Linked DNA regions of Homo sapiens: all the other regions are linked to region 1. Evidence: promoter capture Hi-C in 16 types of primary human blood cells and fetal thymus (Javierre and others, 2016). All regions are on one chromosome and are shown on one strand. Each heading gives the region's core, a stretch centred on a gene start or on the middle of the fragment in contact. The rest is flanking DNA. Distances are from core to core; before and after follow the strand shown.

The links. The method cuts DNA at HindIII sites, captures the fragments that hold promoters and counts their contacts. A CHiCAGO score of 5 or more calls a contact.
Region 2: a fragment that was not itself captured here is called in contact with the fragment with the promoter of ALG8 in region 1 in 1 of 17 cell types (naive CD4 T cells); the score reaches 5.6 in naive CD4 T cells.
Region 3: a fragment that was not itself captured here is called in contact with the fragment with the promoter of ALG8 in region 1 in 6 of 17 cell types (activated CD4 T cells, megakaryocytes, fetal thymus and 3 more); the score reaches 8.7 in activated CD4 T cells.
Region 4: a contact is called between a fragment that was not itself captured here and the fragment with the promoter of ALG8 in region 1, in 5 of 17 cell types (non-activated CD4 T cells, activated CD4 T cells, fetal thymus and 2 more). The highest score is 10.6, in non-activated CD4 T cells.

What each region holds. Positions count from the first base shown.
Region 1 is chr11:78,138,045-78,141,428 of GRCh38, reverse strand. ALG8 (ALG8 alpha-1,3-glucosyltransferase) reads left to right here and starts at 1,803. Exons shown (of 13, transcript NM_024079.5): 1 at 1,803-1,935. The coding sequence starts at 1,841. KCTD21-AS1 (KCTD21 antisense RNA 1) reads right to left here and starts at 1,636. Exons shown (of 3, transcript NR_102281.1): 1 at 1,357-1,636. RefSeq lists enhancers at 360-1,070, 1,231-1,340, 1,951-2,030, 2,111-2,220. The HindIII fragment of the contact is 5,506 bases long and covers 1-2,072 here.
Region 2 is chr11:78,449,053-78,452,436 of GRCh38, reverse strand. The region is part of intron 11 of NARS2 (asparaginyl-tRNA synthetase 2, mitochondrial); the gene reads left to right. Among named protein-coding and RNA genes, the nearest start is that of LINC02728, 21 kb to the right of the region's middle. The HindIII fragment of the contact is 2,362 bases long and covers 435-2,796 here.
Region 3 is chr11:78,430,446-78,433,829 of GRCh38, reverse strand. No RefSeq gene overlaps it. Among named protein-coding and RNA genes, the nearest start is that of LINC02728, 2.3 kb to the right of the region's middle. The HindIII fragment of the contact is 4,611 bases long and covers 1-3,384 here.
Region 4 is chr11:78,408,626-78,412,009 of GRCh38, reverse strand. All of the region lies in intron 1 of GAB2 (GRB2 associated binding protein 2), which reads left to right. Among named protein-coding and RNA genes, the nearest start is that of GAB2, 7.5 kb to the left of the region's middle. The HindIII fragment of the contact is 9,698 bases long and covers 1-3,384 here.

The DNA of each region.
Region 1 (3,384 bases), core at 554-3,053:
CAGTGACTGATTTTAGATTTCTGGTTTACAGAACTGTAAGAGAATAAATTTGTGTTGTTTTAAGCTACTAAGTTTATGGTAATTTCTTACAGCAGAAATAGAAAATTAATGCAAAGTGCCTTTAAAACATCTAAGTAGCTGGGCATGGTGGCGCACAACTGTAATCCCAATACTTTGGGAGGCTGAGGCAGGAAGATCACTTGAGCCCAGGAGTTTGAAACCAGCATGGACAATATAGGGAGATCCCATCTCTACACACACACACACACACGTTGCCACATCCCTGTGGTCCCAGTTACTCAGGAGGCTGAGGTGGGGAGGACTGCTTGAGCCCAGGAGATCGAGGCTGCAGTGAGCTGTGTTTGCACTATTGCCCTCCAGCCTGGGCCACAGAATGAGACCCTGTCTCTCAAAAACAAAACAAAAACATCTACGTGAGGTCAGGTAGCCAACTGGAGACCAGGGTCTGAAAGTGAGAGAAGAGTGCTGAGCTAGAAATCTGTGAATCATATTCACATGGGTGGCAGCTGAAGCTGTGGGAGGGCATAAACTCATATTAGGGAGGTGACACTGTCACCTACTTGCTGTGCATCTTTCAGCAAGATAATTAACTGATCTGACACATTATTGAGCATTTATTCTGTCCTGGAATCATATCAAGCAATTTACATGCATTCTCATTTAATCCTCACAACCAGTTTATGAGGCTGAAACTTTTTTTTTTTTAGACCAAAAGCATCTTGGATAAACAGGCCTGAGGCTTGCCCAGGCTGAAGTGCAATGGCGCGATCTCAGCTCACTGCAACCTCCGCCTCCCACGTTCACGCGATTCTCTAGCTTCAGCCTCCCGAGTAGGTGGAATTACAAGCGCCCGCCACCATGCACGGCTAATTTTTTTTTAATTTTTAGTAGAGACAGGGTTTCACCATATTGGCCAGGCTGATCTCAAACTCCTGAACTCAGGTGATTCGCCCACCTCGGCCTCCCAGTGTTGGGATTACAGGCGTGAGCCACCGCGTCCGGCCAGAAACCATTTTTATCTCCTATTTTCAAAAATAAATAAATAAATAAAAATTTTAAAAAAAGAAACTGAGGTTTAGAGTTTAGTTTGTCCAAGATCATACAGTAAAATAATGAGACAAGCCTAATTAAATTGCATGTGCCTCAGTCATTACGCAATCTGCGAGTTTGTTGGGCCTACTGAATCAGAATCCGAATTATTTTAACATGAACCGTAGGCTATTTGTACACTAAGCGTTAGGACTAGCCTCTACCCTGCTTCCAGAATGGGTTCCGCTCAAGCAGGAGGTGAGCCAAGAGCCTCGCTCAGAGTTCTAAAAACACAATGTTTCTCACCTCTGTATCTTTGCACATGCCATTCTCTAGCTGGATTTAATACTCCGGTGCAAGCGTCCAGGTTGGGAGCCCCCGCAGTTCTCTGAGGTACTTTTATCTACTGTAACTCTAGGGCAACAATCCTGGCTTCTCCACTAGTGCGTGAACGTCTCTAGCGTTAAGTTTTTTTCTCACCTAAGTATCCCCAATACTACACAGTGATGACCCAGCGCAAACGACCACTCTTTCAACGCAAGCATGAACTAGCTGATAAAACTTAAAAGTGGCTACAAACGCCTGCGCAGGAGCCCTTCCGGCCCGGGGTGAGACGCGGGTCTAAAGAAAAGGTGGGCGGGAGGTTTAAATAGCTGACTGCAGTCCCCGGACTGGCTGCGCCGCTCGCCGCATGCGCGCAGCTAGCGGGCACGGCTTCAGAGGGCTTTCTCCGCATGCGCGGGATCCCGGATGTGGATCAAGTTGGTGGGAAGCGTGCGGTGCCGCAGCAATGGCGGCGCTCACAATTGCCACGGGTACTGGCAATTGGTTTTCGGCTTTGGCGCTCGGGGTGACTCTTCTCAAATGCCTTCTCATCCCCACATAGTAAGGGACTCGCACGGCCAGGGGCTGGGCGGGGAGGCCCCGCGGTCGGTCAGGGCGGGAGAGAAAGGTGTGGATATCCCTGGGTATGAAGAGAAAACTTTAGGTCGTGTTTGTCGCTATCCTGCCTTTGCTAAGCTTTCTGTTTCGCCAGTTGTTACTTGACTTAGCCCCAGCTGGCTAGGTTCAGACCTGGCGCTGTCTGATTTGGAACAAATCACTTTAACGTTTCTGAACCTCAGGGTCCTCATCCTTAATAGGCAGTTAAGAACCTCTGCCTCCAACAGCCATTCAGCCAGTATTATCAGATGCCTGAGGTGCCAGGTACCGTTCTAACTCCCGGGAGATGCGGTGGTGAGCAAGACATTGCTGGTCCTTGCCCTCGAAGTTGGTGGGTGGAGCTAGACAAACAGGAACTTTTCAGATTGTGATAAAGGAAATAGAGGGTTACTAAGTGGCTGTGCGCTATTCCTTTAGAAGGTGATGTTTGAGTTGAAATTCAAAAAATGAAAAAGAATAAGTGATGTGGAAAGCAGTTCAGGCATAGGAAAGAGTAAGTTCAAAGGCCCTGTGGCAGGAAAGAAGTCAGAGCATTCTAGGAACAGAAAGTGCCCCTTGTGGCTGCAGAGCATTGAGGGAGAGGAGTGGCACAGCATGGGGTGCACTGGGGACAGATAACACAGGGTTTCGAAGACCACAGTTAGACTGCTGTGTAAAAAATGGATGTAGGGCCAAGACTGAAAGCGTGGAAACCAAGAAGCAACCATGAAATGGTGGTGTGTATACAGTAGGTACTCAGTATTTATTAATATTGGCTTCCGCCTTCCCTTCATCCTTCCTCTTTTTTCTTTTTCTCCCTCATCCCTTTTCTCCTTTCCCTCCCACTTCCTAGTTTAGGGTTTGTTTTATTGGTATCCTTTGATTCAGGCTCTTGGTGATCTCTTGTTGAATATGGGAGAGTCATATGTATAGAATGTAAGTCCATACTGATGCGTATATGTAATCATGTAAGTGGAATGTATATGTAGATTCAGTAAAATGATTAACTGTAGGTCTGTGCATAAGATTATTTCTTGCTTTAGTTGCCTCAGGCTAGAAATGTATCCTCAGAGTTGTTTTTTTTGTTTGTTATTTTTTTTTTTTTTGAGACAGTCTCGTCCCACTCTGTCACCCAGGCTGGAGTACAGTGGCACGATCTCAGCTTACTGCAACCTCTGCCTCCCGGGTTCAAACGATTCTCCTGCCTCAGCCTCCGGAGTAGCTGGGATTACAGGCTTGCACCACCGCGCCAGGCTAATTTTTGTATTTTTAGTAGAGATGGGGTTTCACCATGATGGCGGAGGGCTGATCTCAAATCTCCTGACCTCAAGTGATCCACCTGCCTCGGCCTCCCATAATGTTGGGATTACAGGCATGAGCCACCGTGCCTGGCCAGAGTTGTTATTTTGAATA
Region 2 (3,384 bases), core at 366-2,865, 310 kb before region 1:
GACCCTGTCTCAAAAATAAAAAAAAAAATCGGCCAGACACGGTGGCTGACGCCTGTAATCCCAGAACTTTAGGAAGCCGAGGCAGGTGGATCACAAGGTCAAGAGATCGAGACCAGCCTGGCCAACATGGTGAAATCCCTTCTCTACTAAAAATATAAAAAATTAGCTGAGCATGGTGGCGAGCTCCTGTAGTCCCAGCTACTCGGGAGGCTGAGGCAGGAAAATCTCTTGAACCTGGGAGGCAGAGGTTGCAGTGAGTGAGATCGCACCACTACACTCCAGCCTGGCAACAGAGTGAGACTCCATCTCAAAAAAATTTAAAAAAAAAATTGAAAAATTTAAAAAAAGAATCATAGTTGAAACTCATAAATAAGTATGTGTTTGGTCATCTAACTAAAAGATATGGATACTTCGTAACAGGAAGTTCAAAAGCTTGCAGCTCATTTCCCAGGGCAAAGGTGATGTGCTCCAGCTTGCTTAAGATGTGCTCTAGAGTCCGGCTATTTGGAGAGCCTGGCATGCAACAGCCAAATGGGCAGAAAATGGGTATTGACGGTTGCTCAATTTCAGAGTCACCTTTGCAGTACTCTAAAAGCACACTGGAATTGGCTGGAAGAGCCATTAGTAGACAATCAATATCTGAGCTTTTGATAGTGACCATGGTCTATATGATTATTTGTGGTACTTTATCTGTATTTTTCTTGTAGCACCTAATGCTTTATGGTTAGCTATGATAAAATCTAATCTCTGCTGTAGCACTTTTTATTTATTCATGAACCTTCCCCACTTTCCCTAATCAAAGTTAATTCCTCCTGTCTTTATTGTCCTTGGCTCTATAAGCCAGTCTCAGCCTCCCATAAACCACAGACCTGCCTGCCCATAAAGGCAAGTTGTCATCACCCGCAAATGCCAACTTTCTTGTTTCCAACCTGCCTGCACTCTTAACCGGCTCCCAATAACTTGTGAAACACACAATCAAGTTTTTGTCATTACTTCTCCAAGAAATTTGTGTAATTGCCTGTGTGTTTGTATTATATCTTTATGTACCTTTTATCTCTAGGAGAACCCAGGAGAAAGAGGTAGTTTTTCTAGTAACTAGCCCAGTTGTTATCAGGGGGAGATACAAGGTAGAAGAATTCTACCTGGAATTTCAATCCTAACTAAAGAGTGTGAAAATTTGAGGGAATTGTTCTAGTGATCTTTAGAGAATGCAGTATTTTTGATATACCAGAAGAAAGTACACTCTGTGTATTCAAAATGTGTCTTTATTTGTAATTGAAGAATACTCTGCTGTATTATAACTTCTCAGAGAGTGTGCAGAATCTTTAGCTAGGTAGGAGGATATAGTTATAAAAGAAAAACAGGAAGTATTAGAATCTGATACGGTGGAAGGGAACCTAAACCTGAAGTAAAAGAGAAAAGAAGAATGTTACATGGAGGAAGAAAAGACAACAAGGGCTGGGCACAGTGGCTCACGCCTGTAATCCCAGCACTTTGGAGGCCCAGGTGGGCAGATCACTTGAGGTCAGGAGTTAGAGGCCTGCCTGCCCAACATGGTGAAACCCCATCTCTACTACAAAAATTAGGTATAAAAATTAGCCAGGCGTGGTGGCATGCATCTGTAATACCAGCTACTCGGGAGGCTGAGGCAGGAGAATCACTTGAACCTGAGAAGCGGAGGTTGCAGTGAGCTGAGATCACACCACTGCATTCCAGCCTGGGCGACACAGTGAGACTCAGTCTCAGGAAAAAAAAAAAAAAAAAAAAAAAGACAAGGCTTTTGTGGGCTTTTCTTCAGAGGTTCACCTGACCTTGTTGAAAAAGAAATAGTACCATTTGGTCCTGAAATAATTATGAGACATTGTAAAGGAATGCTTTGCTCAAAAGATACAGGTATCTTAAGAGGGGAAGCAACTTTGCACTCTTGTCAAGGAAACATGTAGGAGACTGACCACTGGAGAGAATGTGAATTTTCAGACCATGTAGGCAAAGAAAGAACAAAGATGATATGTGTTCCTCCTGCATACCATTAAATTAGTACCAAGTAAAGATATAGTAGTGGTGTGGGACTGTATCCAGATGTCTTCTAAAATTTTTATCCCGTGAAAATAGCCTATTTTGGTAAGTTCTTCCATACTGATTCGTTTATCTCCCAGAGTACAGAGGAAGAAAATAGGAGAACTACTGTTCTTCCTTTAATTCTAATTAACATTGAAGGATTGTTTGGGAGGGTGGAAGTTTAAGAGTCCACGTAGATGAGGAAAAAGCAACATGGAAAACTGTTTTATGTGCACATATAGTTTGTGCTTCTCCCTCAGTGGGAATTATGCTTCCCCGTCCCATTAATGTGACCTGAGTCATATGACTTGCATTGGTCGAGGAATGTGAGAAGTGACATACATACGTTGCTTCTGTACAAATGCTTTTAGTACATAGTCATACATGATCTTTTTCCCATCTGCCCCAAGACCAACAGTACCCTAGAAAGAGATTATTCTATCAGTTTTAGACCAGGGTGGACATGTGGCCTGTGTTTTTAAAAGGCCTTTCATTGTTTTAAACTAGTGGTTCTCAACCAGGGATTATTATGTTCCCCTCTTTCTTCACCAAGGAACATTTGTAATGTCTGGAAATGTTTTTGGTTGTTACAACAAGGGGAGTATAACTGGCCTATAGTGGGTAGAGGCTAGTTATGCTTCTCAATATCCCACAGTGCACAGTTGAGGCCTCCACAACAAAGAAGTATCTAGTTAAAAATGTTATTAATGTTGAGATTGAGAAACCTGGTTGTAAGCTTCTGGGGTTGTTTGTGACTATAGCTTAGCCTAGCCTATCCTGACTAATACAACAACTTTCACCTTAATTTTATACTAAGTGCAGCAATAGTTGTGTATAACCAGTTAGGTACACTGGAAATTAGGAAGGCAAGTTTGGGAGAAAAAAAAATTTTTTTTTTTAACGTAGCTATCCTACCATGGTATAAGGTTTTTAAGGTGACTTGGCCAGGCGCGGTGGCTCACGCCTGTAATCCCAGCACTTTGGGAGGCTGAGGCAGGCGGATCACGAGGTCAGGAGATCCGAGACCATCCTGGCTAACGTGGTGAAACCCTGTCTCTACTAAAAATACAAAAAAATTAGCCGGGCATGGTGGCAGGTGCCTGTAGTCCCAGCTACTCGGGAGGCTGAGGCAGGAGAATAGCATGAACCGGGGAGGTGGAGTTTGCAGTGAGCCGAGATCGCACCACTGCACTCCAGCCTGGGTGACAGAGCAAGACTCCAACTCAAAAAAAAAAAAAAAAAAAACATTTTTTAGGTGACTCAAAAGGTTTAGAAACTTCCAGTTACACAACTATAACTGTGCAGTTGCAGATATTCCAGATAAAT
Region 3 (3,384 bases), core at 342-2,841, 290 kb before region 1:
TAGTTGATCACACAATGAATATCTGGTTGAAGCCAAATACTTGCCACCTATAGCAAGCCTAATAATTTGTCTTTGGTGCAATACTTCTATTTTGCCAATAATTGAACAAAAACAAAAATTCAAGTCAGACAAAGATGATGAAAATGCCAAAACTGAACTGTTGCTTGCAGGCAGCATCAGCAGGAAAAAACTCAAAATGTTTACTCATCAGCTGAGATATGAATATCTAAATTCTACATTGCAAACAGTGTTGTATAAGTCAGTGTATAATGAATAAACGTATGGATTCAATAGTTGAGTACTGTCTACACCATAATAGCTTTTAGTGCTCAGTTTCTGAGTTAAAAGGTGATAAGAGGGTTAGTTTTTCACTTGAGCAACCCATTTCCAATGAGGAAAGAAATCAGATTATGTTTTCCTAAGATTTCCAAATGCCACCTGAAAATAAGAACCCCAGCAACCAAAGTAGAAGTATATTCTAAAACTTAGAAAGGTTTTTTCCATTATTCTCATTCTTATTTCAAATTTTGAGATAGGTTGAGAAAAATAGTTGCTTTCCATCTGGCTGTCCTTTTGCCTGGGGAAAGTTGTGCTGTCATGTTTTTAGGTCTGACAAGAACTTAATTGTGTGAGTGATCCATTCCAGATCTAGACATAACTCTCCAACCCAGAGACTCTTCAACTGTCACAGAATAGCAAAAGAACTATTTGACCTTTTGTTCTTGTCAGACTGGATCTGCCAGAAGCCTCCCTCTACAATGTTATATATTCATATTCTCTATAAATTGAATGTAGACATTGAAGCATGACTGAACAGGCATTGAAGATGTACTTGGTGAGGTGGATTAACTCTACCCATCTTTAAATCCGTTGCTTCAGATAATTATAGATGAGAGATGCTTATTTGGATTGGATTGCTATTTATTCTTATGTTTATTTTACTAAGTGGTGAGGCAAGAACACAAAAATGTACAGTTGAAAGACAGATTGGCCTGGGTTGATTGATAAGTAATGTGTGGGGTGTTTTGGCTTCTGATCAATATTTGTATTCAGTCTGCAATCTATGTATAATTAAAAAAACAGGTGAGAGTAACATCTGATTATAATTTCTCCCCAGTTAATCTTCAGAATTAAAAGATAGTAAAAGCGTTAAGAAAAGGGCAGAAAGCGGGCCGGGCACGGTGGCTCATACCTGTAACCCCAGCACTTTGGGAGGCCAAGACAGGCGGATCACCTGAGGTCAGGAGTTCGAGACCAGCCTGACTAACATGATGAAACCCATCTCTACTAAAAATACAAAAATTAGCTAGCTGTGGTGGTAGGCTCCTGTAATCCCAGCTCCTTGGGAGGCTGAGGCAGGAGAATTGCTGGAACTTGGGAGGCGGAGGTTTCAGTGAGCCGAGATGGTGCCATTGCACTCCAGCGGGGGGCAGCAGAGCAAGACTCCATCTCAAAAAAAAAAAAAAAGAAAAAGAAAAGGGCCCAAAGCAACCTTAATCACTGTATTGAAATGATTTAGTATGGCTTTTGTAAGAAAGTATTTTAAGTCATGGTCAGCATCCCTCCCTGAACTTGGACATTCTACTGTTGCCAGGAGCCCTAGATTGGCCTGTGATCAACTAAGGCTCCAGTTAGCTGTTGTGCAGTTTGGACCCAGCATTACCATAAATGGAGTCCAGCGAATTTCTAGCCATTATCAGCACACTGGATAGTTTCTGGGGGACCTTTATAAAGAAGACACCAGGAGTTTAGGTGGTTTTTAAACTGTCATTCAGGCAGCTGGTCATTGAATTAACATAGCTCATGACTTTTCAAAAATTTTCTGCTATACCTTTACTGTTCATAATTGTTACTAATAACATGACTATTATTTAGGCATTGCTTTACAGTTCACAAACATGTTTCATGTATCTTATTTTCTTAGTTATCAAGACAATACATTGTGGACTTTGTTCCTTTGTATCTTACTGGTCATGAAATTTATTTGGTTTATTTGTTATAAAAATTCAAAGTTCCTTTTGGGAGGCCAAGGCCGGCAGATCACAAGGTCAGGAGATTGAGACCATCCTGGCTAACACGGTGAAACCCTGTCTCTACAAAAAAAAAAAAAAAAAAAAAAAAAAAAAAATTAGCCGGGTGTGGTGGCAGGCGCCTGTAGTCCCAGCTTACTCAGGAGGCTGAGGCAGGAGAATGGCATGAACCCGGGAGGCGGAACTTGCAGTCAGCCGAGATCACACCACTGCACTCCAGCCTAGGCAAAAGAGCGAGACTCTGTCTCAAAAAAAAAAAAAAAAAAAATCGAAAGTTCCTAATACTGAGAGAAAGACTGCAAATAAAATTCACTGCCCTCAGCTTCCAGAGAAACCAAAAAACATAAAACCTAATAACCAAAGAATCTTGCATCTTAAGCCCCAGAGTTTACTGAATGTGTCGCAAAATACTCACCTTGACCTTGTTCTACCCAGGGTGAAGGGACAGGAGAATGTGAAGGAAGATGATGTTTGATCTCAAATACATTGGAGTAAAGAGAAACACTAAAAATGGGGTAAAGGATCCTAGACCCAGCAATGTACTTAAGCTCATTGTGCCTCAATTTGTTATCAGTTTATACTCACATTTGCCACCTTCCTTTTAGGATCATCTTTGAATTGTGGATAGAAAGATACATGAAAGAAACTTTGATAGGAATTATTAATATCTTCCTCGAAGTCACAGACCTTTGATTTTTCAAGGTAATAATCTGAAAATAGATACATGGTGAGCCTGTGTAACAAAGGTTTTTTTTCTGCAACAGGTGCCCATGTACACAGCTGGAACTGTATTTTGCCGAACCTGAGCCATCTACAACTGTGATTCTTTGATTCATAACTTTCTCTACACACTAGCTCAATAAGAATTGCTGGTTTGCCATTTTCCTAGGAACCTAGTTTTGAAAAATCTTGGAAAGAAGATAATTCTTCCCGTTTATGATATATGAACTACTCCCCTCTGTATTTCTCCTGATTCCTAGTAATTTACCTATTGTAGCTTCACTGAATAGGAACTCACTATCTTAATAGAGATCTTTTATTTATTTATTTATTTATTTATTTATTTAGAGACAGGGTCTTACTCTCTCACTCAGGCTAGAGTGCAGTGACGTGATCACAGCTCACTGCAGCCTCAGCCTCCCAGGCTCAAGTGATCCTTCTGCCTCAGCCTCCCACGTAGCTGGGACCACAGGCACAAGCCACCACACCCAGCTAATTTTTGTATTTTTTGTAGAGACAGGGTTTTGCCATGTTGCCCAGGCTGGTCTTGAACTCCTGGGCTCAAGCAGTCCTCCCACTTTGGCCTCTGAAAGGGCAGGGATTACAGGCATGAGCCACTGTGCCTAGCCTTATT
Region 4 (3,384 bases), core at 236-2,735, 270 kb before region 1:
CACCCAGGCTGGAGTGCGGTGGCACAGTCTTGGCTCACTGCAACCTCTGCCTCCCAGGTTCAAGCGATTCTCCTGCCTCAGCCTCCTGAGTAGCTGGGACTACAGGTGTGCGCCACCATGCCCAGCTCATTTTTGTATTTTTAGTAGAGACAGGGTTTCACCATGTTGGCCAGGATGGTCTCAATCTCTTGACCTCGTGATCCGCCCACCTTGGCCTCCCAAAGTGCTGGGATTACAGGCGTGAGCCACTGCGCCGGCTTTCCTGGTTTTTTTTTTTCTACACATTTTACAGGTTTATGTTTTTCCTTTAAGTCCGTGATCCACTGTGAGTTAATTTTCATGTAAGATGTGAGACTTAGATTGAGGTTCTTTTGTTGTTGTCATTGTTGTTGACAAAGCCATCCTACTTCCATTGAATTGCTTTTCCGTCTTTGTCAAAAATCAGTTGGACGTATTTGTGTGGGTCTGTTTCTGTTGTCTCTGTTTTGGTCCATTTTTCCATGTGTCTGTCCCTCTGCAAATACCATAGAATCTTGCCAACTCTAGCTATATTGTAAGTCTTGAAATCTGGTAGCCTGATTCCTCTACTTTATTCTTATTTTTCAAAGTGTTTTAGCTATTCTATTATCTTTACCTTTCAATACAAATTTTAGAATAATCTTGTTTATGCAAAAAAAAGAAAGTCTTGCTGAGATTTTAATAGGAAGTGCATTAATCCTGTGTACCAATTTGGGAAGAAATTACAGCTTTACTATATTAAATCTTCCAGTCCATGAATTTATTTTACATTTATTTATATATGTCTTTCTTCCTTCGTTTATTTTCTTCTCCTTCCACCATCCCCCCCCCCAACCACCCCCACCAGAATCTTGCTGTGTCACACAGGCTGGCGACAGTGGCACAATCATGGCTCACTGCAGCCTCAAATTCCTGGGCTCAGGTGATCCTACTGTCTCAGCCTCCCAAGTAATTGGGACGACAGCTGCGTACTGCTGTGCCTGGCTAATTTTTTTTTTTATTATTTGTAGAGACAGGGTCTCCCTGCGTTGCCCAGGCTGGTCTCACACTCCGGAGCTTAAGCAGTCCTCCCACCTTGGCTTCCCAGAGTGCTGCGATTATAGGTGTGAACCACCATGTCTAGCCTTCTGGAAGAGATGGTGTAGAACTGGTATAATTCTTTAAACCTTTGGTAGAATTCTCCAGATTAAACCATCTGGATCTGGAAATGTCTTTGTTAGGAATTTTTTACATTTTTAATCCAATTTCTTTAATAGATACGGGGTTCTTCAAATTATCTACTTCATATTGGCTGAATTATAGAAGTTTACATTTTTCAACAAATTGGTCCATTTTGTCTAAGTTGTTACATACATGTGAGTGGAGTTACAGTATCCTGTATTATGCTTTCAGTGTCTGCAGGGTCTGTAGTGGGTCCACTGCTTTATTTTTTTAACCCTTATTCTTGCATACTGACATTGCTTCATTATTATTTTTTGTTTGTTTTTTGAGACAGCATGTCACTCTGTCACCTGGGGTGGAGTGCAATGGCACGATCTCAGCTCACTACAACCTCCACCTCCCAGGTTCCAGCAGTTCTCCTGCCTCAGCCTCCCGAGCAGCTGGGATTGCAGGCATGTGCCACAATGCCCAGCTGATTTTTGTATTTTTAGTAGAGACAGGGTTTCACCATATTGGCCAGGCTGGTCTCAAACTCCTGACCTTAAGTGATCTGCCTGCTTTGGCCTCCCAAAGTGCTGCAATTACAGGCATGAGCCGCTGCACCTGGCCTCTGATTTTTTTATATAGTAGTTTATTCATTTGAGACTTTTCCTCTTATTTAATGTATTCATTTACTGCTATGAATTTCCCTCTCAGCACTGCTTTAGCTGTGTCCCACTAATTTTGATAAATTGCATTTTCAATTTTTATTTGCTCAGTATATATATATTTTTTTTACTTTCCTTGAGACTTTCCTCTTTGACCATGGATTATTTACAAGTACATTGTTTAGTTTCCAAATGTTTGGAGATTTTCCCATTATTTTTCTGTTTCTGTCTTTTAGTTGGAATTCATTGTGGGAGTAGAGTAAGTTCTATTTGATTTCAATTATTTTTAACTTGTCAAGGTTTATTTTATTGCTGAAAATGTGGTCTATCTTGCTTTAGGTTCCATGGGTACTTTGAAAAGAATGTTTATTCTGCTATTATTGGGTAAAGTATTCCATAAATGTCAATTATATCTTTTTGATTGATAGTGATATATATAATTCTTTTATATCCTTGCTGATTTTTCTATCTAGTTCTTCTGTCGATTGTTGAGAGACAGGGGTTGAAGTTTCCAACTATAATTGTGAATATTTCTGTTTCTCATTTCACTTATATCTGTTTTTGTTTCACATATTTTATTTTTTTTATTATTTTTTTGGAGATGGAGTTCCGCTGTTGTTGCCCAGGCTGGAGGTGCAATAGCATGATCTCAGCTCTCCGCAACCTCCACCTCCTGGGTGCAAGCAATTCTCCTGCCTCAGCCTCCCAAGTAGTTGGGATTACAGGCATGCGCCACCACACCCGGCTAATTTTGTATTTTTAATAGAGACAGGGTTTCTCCATGTTGGCCAGACTGGTCTCGAACTCCTGACCTCAGGTCATCCGCCTGCCTCGGCCTCCCAAAGTGCTGGGATTACAGACATGAGCCACCGCACCCAGCCCTGTTGTTCAATATATACACATTTAGAATTGCAACATCTTCTTGGTGGCATGACCCTTTTATCTTTATATAATACCTGCTGAGTCTCTGGTAATTTCTTTTGCTCTGAGGTCTACTTGTTATCTGATATATTATACAAGTATCTGAGGGCTACTTGATATATTATAGCCTATATCTGATGATATAGTTATTCTTGCTTTCCTTTTATTGATATTCACATGATACATCTTTTCCATCAATTTACTTTCAACCTACCCATATCATTGTATTTGAAGTGATATCTTATAGGTGGCATATTGTTGGGGTGTATTAATCCGTTCTCGCACTGCTGTAAAGAACTACCTGAGACTGGGTAATTTATCAAGAAAAGAGGTTTAATTGGCCCACAGTTCCACAAGCTGTACAGGAAGCATGGCTGGGGAGGCCTCAGGAAACTTACAGTCATGGCGGAAGGTGAGGGAGAAGCAGGCACATCTTACATGGCTGGAGCAGGAGGAAGAGAGTGAGGGGAGAGGTACTACACACTTCTAAATAACCAGATCTCACAATAACTCACTCACTATCATGAGAACAGCACCAAAGGGGAACTCCACCTCCATAATCCAATCATTTCCCATCAGGCCCCACCTCCAATATTTGGGGATGACAATTTGACCTCAGATTTGGGCAGGGACACAT